Regions from separate parts of the Homo sapiens genome. Here region 2 is linked to region 1. Evidence: promoter capture Hi-C in human tissues and cell types (Jung and others, 2019). All regions are on one chromosome and are shown on one strand. Each heading gives the region's core, a stretch centred on a gene start or on the middle of the fragment in contact. The rest is flanking DNA. Distances are from core to core; before and after follow the strand shown.

Region 1 (3,648 bases), core at 238-2,737:
ACACTAGTGTTTAAGCACAGGTGTGCAACAGCAAGGAAATGTTATTAAATGTTGAAATTTACCAGGACATTGTGTTCTTCAGATACAGCTGTGTCCTTTTCACATTTCCCGAACTCCCCTCCTCTCCTGTTTATGGGGGGTGGGGGGGAGCACAACAGATACTCTTACTTGAAAAATAAAGTATCTGTTCAGATTTTCTAAGTAAATTTCCATTACTGGGTTTGGGAAAAAATCCCTACTACATTGTCTGTAACAAAAAGGTGCCTGCGCCTTCTTTCAACTGCCTGAAGCTTGTGAACCGACTGAATACATTTAAAGGGCTCACAGATCTCAGGACGCAGTCTCCCCGCACAAGAAACTTAAAAACGCCTTTCAGTCTCGCAGAGACCTACTTGGATGTTTCCAAGTTCCATCGTTTGGTAGCTACCCAGCATCTGGGGCGAAAAAAAAGGACTTATCCTTGGAAAAGCGGCTTCTTGAGTCTCAACAACCGGAGGGACACAGTAGGGAAGTCAGGGCTCACCTAAAACCCTCCACCCCAGCAGACAGTCCGGCAAGCCCCGGCTCACGTTTGTTTCCGTGCCCGCGAAACTCTCAATGAAAAGCATCTCACAAAAGGCCTCCCCTGCTCCCCGCGCCGAGGACTCACCAGCACCGTGGTGCAGATGGATCTCAGCTCGGACTCCACTTTCTCCCGATAGTCCTTAATCAGCTGCAACTTCTTGTCGGAGGTGTCGGTCTTCTGCTCGATGCTAGAGATGACCCTCCAGGCGGACCTGCGGCCCCCGACCACGTTCTTGTAGGCCACGGAGAGCAGGTTGCGCTCCTCGTTGGACAGCTCGGCGCCCTGCTCGGTCACTGCCTTCATGCAGGTGGCCATGTCGTCGTAGCGCTCGGCCTGCTCGGCCAGCTTGGCCTTCTGGATCAGCTCAGTCTTCTCCATGGCGGGCGCGGGGCCGGGGCCGGGGCGGAGGGCGAGGAGAGCGAGGGCGAGCGCCGACCCGCAGCGGGAGGAGCCTCGAGAGCTGCGGAGGGGCGGGGCGGCGAGGCGAGAACAAAAAGCAGAGAGGGAGCGCCGTCAGACAATGCGGCCCGCCGCCCGCTTTTGTCTCCCGCACACGCGGCCGCTTGAATTTCCCTCTCCCCCGCCCCCTCCCCCGCTGGGCACCCGGGGAGGCCGCGGCCCGCGGCTGGAGGAGGCGGGGGCGGCGCGGAGGCCCCGCGCGCAGGGAGCCCGAGCCGCGGCCGCTCCCGCCACCCCCGCCCGGCCGGCCCAAGATGGAAGCGACCGTTGGCCCCGCACCTTCCCGCCCGGAGCCGTCCCTGAGGGGAGCGGCATCGACAACCGGCTGCTCTCAAGGGCGGCACCTCCGCCCGGCCCTCAATCCGAGCGCGGCCGGAGGAAGCCCGCGGGCCGACCCAGGCGCTCACCTTCACGTCTCCGCGGCCGCGACGCGAGTCCCACCACTTTGATCTGCTTTTGGCTTTAGCTGAGGACCCTCCCGTGTCAGCCTACCCCGGGGCCGAGGGGCGGTCCACCGCCCAATGATGCGCCGAGCTTCTCCCGAGAGTCCCGCCCCCAGCGCGCCGCTGGCCAATGAGGACCGAGCGCGCGGAAGGGGGCGAGGGGGGCGGAGCGGGAGGGAACGCGGAGGCTAGGAGGGTGGGTCGGTACGGGGAAGTTCGGTTGGCCGGCAGGCTGCGGCTTCGGCCACGGGGTTTCCTCCAATTAGATCCAGGGTAAAAGGACGTCACTGTTGCCATGGCGATGCCGTTACCAACTCCCCTCAGCCTCCCCGCCACCCCGGCACTTCTGGGTGCGGCACGAGACCCAGAGGCGCGCACGACCTCCTAGGCGGCGGCTGCGTCTCCCGCTGCGGATGGTGCATTGCATCTCACGGGCTCTGGCCGAGGCTGGACTTCGGAGGGTGACATATTCAGCTGTTTTAGAGCACGGGGGCCTTTCTTTCCTCCACCTTTCTATCCGTGACAAAGGTTTGGATCCCAAGACACTAAACCCAGACCTTAATGACGTTGCCATTAGGGCTCCGAATTAAGCAAACCGCATCCCCATTAAAGAAGAATTGATTCTGGAGACGGTGTCTTCAGTATGGCATTTACATGATAAATTCAAGTTTTCAGATGGGCATCCTAAAACAAAAAATTCCCTTGTGAAAAGGTAGGTCCCAGAAGATCCAGGGGAGTTTCTGTGACAATGCCAAGTATTGTGGTTTTCTTTAAAATGAGAAATGACATTAAGCACAATTTGCAGGAAAACACCTATTACTACCCCTTCCCACCCCCGCAAAAAAAAACCCTGCCCATAACATCTCTCCCCGCAAAAAAAAAGCAATTTTTATGTATCTTTTAGGCTTTCCAGGTTATGCACCTAAATACATCATTTTTCACATCGTTGTCACATGTGCACACGCTTTTGTTTCTGGTATTATTTGTGAGAGGTCACTTGAAAAGCTGAAATCCTCTCCCTGGATGTTGATTTCTGATTTTCTCCTCCTGGGGAACACCCTGCTGAAGCGAGAAAGATTCCCCCAGGCCCCTCCCATTCAGGGTCATCCCTGGCAGCTCCCTTTCCTCTTAAACCACTCCTGTCTCTCCTTGCACTTCCCCAGTTCCCTAACTCCATCCAGGTAGGGTGGCTGCCCTGCCCGTCTGGCGCGTGGTCCCTGTGCCATCTTAAGATGAGAATTGCCCTCTGGGTTCACGCTGCTATGATCCCGATTCCAGCAGGTCTAAGGAGAATGGATCATAAAGAATTTCCCATTCTGAGTGGAGACTGGAGCAAATCCGGAGAATCTCTAGAATGGGAGATTTGAGAGTGCAGACAGATGGGAGGAGAAGGTGCCGACTTTCCAGAAATTCAGACTCCCTCTTGACTGCCCCTCCCTGTCCTGACTTGTGAAGGTTGCTTTGTGCTTTGACAGACAGGAGCGGCCTGGATTGGAAAGGGCCTGTGTCTTAATGCAGAAATGCCTTACTATGTTCCAGCCTTCTAATGGAGGGCCCTGCTGTTATTTCTGGAATCCCTGGGGCCCCGCTACAGACACATGAGTGTTTATGGCCCTGTGGGCTGGGGTGGAGCTGGACACCGAGAAATCCCAATGGAAAGAATTTGCATGTGGAAGGTCAGATAAAATGCCTTCTGTATGACCAGTGAATTTCAAGCTCACCAAAATTAGAGGCAACCCGGGCAAGGGGAGAAGCCAGTGGAGGTGGATGGGGGATAGAGACCCAGGAGAGGAAATTGTCAGGGGATGGAACCTCTGTGGTAGAGAGGGACTACCAGAAGGAGCAAGCACACTAAATTCTTTGTCAGAAAGTCTAGGCTGTGCTGTGGTCTCCCCCAGTGACCTTGGGCAAGTTTTTGCTGCTTTCTGTACCTTAGTCTCTGAAATTTCTGCTTTCATTCAATCAAATATTTATTGAACACCAACTCATCTAGTTGCAATCATCTGGAATCATGGGTAAAAACTGCTTCCAACCAATAACACAGTATAAAATTGCATTTTAGGAAGATTCAGAGGACCCTCTACATAGCTAAAGGCTTCTGTGCCTGAAAGAACTCGGGTTGGAGAGAAACAAGGCTCTGGGAACTTGAAGTCCCTGGACACAGAAAGAGCTAACCTGTGT
Region 2 (3,771 bases), core at 245-2,744, 330 kb after region 1:
CAGTTACTAAGAGATGAAGTAACTTGCTCAGGTGACACAGAACTTGAACCCAGGCAATTTGACCCTGGCGTCTATGCTGTAACCCCAGTTGATCAGATCGCATAGCTTCAGGTTTCTAGTAAAACACAGTAATTGTTTTTAGGATTATGGAAAGTAAAGCTTGTTAGAGGAGAGCTCTGAGCCCTTAGTATTTCGAATGAAATTTTACTTAATAGGTTTGGATTTTATTTGACCGATAACCAGAAAGCCTTTTTCCCTTTATCTAGTAATGGGTAGTTTTGATGTTTTCTGTTTATTCTGTCAAGTGTTATTGCACAGGACCCAACAGCCCAATGCCATTAGGAAAATAAAAATTGTCAAAGAACTACATCAGCATCGCGTTTGAAAGCAGTTTTCTTTTCTTAAAGAAACAGCATACCAATTGTGACAGAGCAGCCCCTCATCTCTGCTGGAGAAAACAGAGTGCAAGTACTGAAAAATGTGCCATTTAACATTGTCCTTCCCCATGGCAACCAGCTGGGCATTGATAAGAGAGGCCATCTGACAGCTCCAGATACGACAGTCACTGTCTCCATAGCAACGATGCCTACCCACTCCATCAAGACAGAAACCCAGCCACATGGCTTCGCTGTGGGAATCCCCCCAGCAGTGTATCATCCTGAGCCCACTGAGCGGGTGGTGGTTTTCGATCGGAATCTCAATACTGACCAGTTCAGCTCTGGTGCTCAAGCCCCAAATGCTCAAAGGCGAACTCCAGACTCGACCTTCTCAGAGACCTTCAAGGAAGGCGTTCAGGAGGTAAGGAAACAAAAACATCTTCCTAAGACGCCTGCGTGTTTGTATAAGTATTGGGTTCCACCTTTTCCTTGTTATGTAAGCATGAAACTCAGCCTGAAATGAATGGATTAGGAATAAAAGATTTTTTTTTTAAGAGAAAAGGCCCATGGGTATAATTTGTAAACTAAACCTATACAACCAGAAGTTATTATCAAGGATGCAAGGCTAATCTTACCAGCAGCTGAGTTAACAATTATGATTTCAGCTAAGGGATTTGCTGGAGAAAGAGAACCCCATACATAATCTTCTGTTGACCACAGGTAGATTCTCCTAGTCTGTTTTCAGCACTTCTCCCAGTGCCAAACAAGCTCCCTGGAGCTCATATAAAATGAGTTATTATATCTTTGCTTGGTGTTTCTTGGTTGGTAATGTAGTCAGGGAGAGCACAAATGCATTGTGTGAGGTTTACAAATTAATTCCAAATAGTTCTGGGGGTTTTATGGTGATGAATACCTCACTCAGCTAAAAGTTAGGGACTAAAGGTGTTAGAAACCATACTTAGTGACTTGGTGGGGTAAAGAGCATCCATCTCTGCGTATGGAGTTAGGGGCAGAATGTTAGCCTTTCCTGAGAAAATGCACCACATCTCTTCAGCTGTGGTGTGAACTTGATGCTGTGTCTTAACTTGGTATAATGATAGGGTGACTTTTAAAAGTCATGAAATTTTGGTTGCAGGTCCTAGTGTTTGAACAGAGTTGGGATGTGTGTGAAAGACAGAAAAGGGGGTCGTGAGTCAGAAGCACTTAGTGGGAGTACCTACACAGCTTGTTGTAATTTACTTGAGTGGCATATAAAAGTGGATATTTTCTCTGTTTTAATTTTTTAAGTATTTGTAGAATCAAAATTTTTACTCAAAAATAAATATGGAAAGGATAGTGGGTTGCTGTAAGCCACATACTTTTATGCGGTACCAGAGCTTGGTCTTTAGTAAGCATGATAACCAGTTAAATAGTTGTGGCTTATCACATTGATATTTCAGGTTTTCTTCCCCTCGGATCTCAGTCTGCGGATGCCTGGCATGAATTCAGAGGACTATGTTTTTGACAGTGTTTCTGGGTAATAGATGTCTTTTAATTTGATTTTTAATTTGCAGCTTTTATAACTTATTCCTTTCTTGTTAACTTGATAAATCAAAGGTGGCTTTAGCAGGCTTTCCCCTTATCTTACTACTTTTACTGTGGTACAGTCTTGGGTAGAGGACATCTGCTTCAGTGCTTTTAATTTTGAACTCTTTGAACTATGTTTCAAGTTTCCTTAATTCTTGGTGTTGGTGCTTTTTCTTTCTTTTGGATTCTTTATGTGATGGTAGTAGAATGGAATCTAATAGGAGAGATGAGGGGATTAAATTAGGTCTCTGAGGTCCTTTCTGTTGCCAAATATATATAATTAGGTGAGAATTTAGGAGTAATATCAAGTGATAAAAGCTTTTTTTTTTTAAAATCAGCCTCACTAATGATAAAATAAATGAAGTCAACTTTTTTCTGAGCTGACAACTTTCTTTTGACCTCACAAAATTGTATCTCACTCTGGGAGTATGAATATTTTCCAAGTTAATTAGGAACTCATATTTTGTTTTATGTGTTTTTTACATGTGTTATATTTTACAGTTTTAAAAGTGTCTAAGATTTTATGGGAATTGAGACTTCCCTTATAGATCTGCCTCAAGATGCAGGAGTCCCAAATGGAAATACCTTTAGGGTTTAGGATAGGGGTCAGCTAACTTTTTCTGTAAAGACTCAGAGAGTAAATATTTCAGGCTTTGTGGGCCATACAACCTCTGTATATTTTTGCAACTACCCCGGTCTGCCATTGTGCAAAAGCAGCCATAGGTAATGTGTAAACAAATGATGTGGCTATGTGCTAATAAAACTTTAGTTACAAAAATAGGTGTAATCTGCTGAGCCGTGGCCTGGGAAGGTTCTTAAACAACTTTAGGGGCATATATGAGTGGTAGTGTTAGGTAATAGGTAATGTCGAGAATTGTGGAGTGCCTGCCTATTAAAGACATTTAAATTACAAGTAGGAACAACAAAAAAATGCTATATAGGCCAAAAGGAATTTAGTCAGAGGAACACCAGCCACCTGTCTGAAACCTCTGCTGGATAAATATCAGATTGGCAGCATGTCTTGTGAGAAGTTCCTTCCAAAGTCCTTTCCACCTATCAGTATCTTTAATATCTCGAGCCCTCAAACTCAGGATGTCCGATTACTGACATCCATCACATCATAGAATTTTTAATCGGCAATTTGTACTTCCACCTCTGAGAGACTTGAGAATTTTTAGCTGCTGAGTACTTTTGTTTCAGATTTTCTTTAAGTGAAAAAGATAGCAAATGCTATTTATAATATGATGTATAGCAAGCTTCCACGAGAGTAGATTTAGAGACCTGTGACTTTTTTTGTCCTTTAGGAACAACTTTGAATATACCCTAGAAGCTTCAAAATCACTTCGACAGAAGCCAGGAGACAGTACCATGACGTACCTGAACAAAGGCCAGTTCTATCCCATCACCTTGAAGGAGGTGAGCAGCAGTGAAGGAATCCATCATCCCATCAGCAAAGTTCGAGTAAGTTCTGCTCTTAGTCCTGTTCTCTAGGAAAGCTAGTCAGAGCCTAACATTTCCAGGTCTGAAGCAGCTCTGAATGACCGCCTGAAATTGCAGCTTTAAGCCTTCACTGTAAAATATAGTACTAAATACGTTTTCCAAAACATACTCACCCTTTAGTGTCTTTATGTTGTAATGCATTCTCTTTCACAGAGTGTGATCATGGTGGTTTTTGCTGAAGACAAAAGCAGAGAAGATCAGTTAAGGCATTGGAAGTACTGGCACTCCCGGCAGCACACCGCTAAACAAAGATGCATTGACATAGGTAAGCAGCTCAAGAGCCCGCTTTTATTCCCAGAGGTGCAGCCATCCAGTTTTCTAAATCCAA

What was found. Contacts are between HindIII fragments. The study calls those that stand out against the background at their distance.
Region 2: a contact is called between a fragment that was not itself captured here and the fragment with the promoter of YWHAQ in region 1, in 1 of the 25 tissues and cell types used here (IMR-90 fibroblasts).

The regions. Positions count from the first base shown.
Region 1 is chr2:9,629,510-9,633,157 of GRCh38, forward strand. It overlaps YWHAQ (tyrosine 3-monooxygenase/tryptophan 5-monooxygenase activation protein theta), which reads right to left and starts at 1,488. Exons shown (of 6, transcript NM_006826.4): 1 at 1,432-1,488; 2 at 650-1,025. The coding sequence starts at 943. RefSeq lists enhancers at 74-976, 720-819 and silencers at 940-1,289, 1,490-1,589, 1,640-1,809. The HindIII fragment of the contact is 8,846 bases long and covers 126-3,648 here.
Region 2 is chr2:9,960,639-9,964,409 of GRCh38, forward strand. It overlaps GRHL1 (grainyhead like transcription factor 1), which reads left to right. Exons shown (of 16, transcript NM_198182.3): 4 at 408-798; 5 at 1,817-1,893; 6 at 3,248-3,404; 7 at 3,597-3,708. Among named protein-coding and RNA genes, the nearest start is that of GRHL1, 11 kb to the left of the region's middle. The HindIII fragment of the contact is 3,483 bases long and covers 1-3,236 here.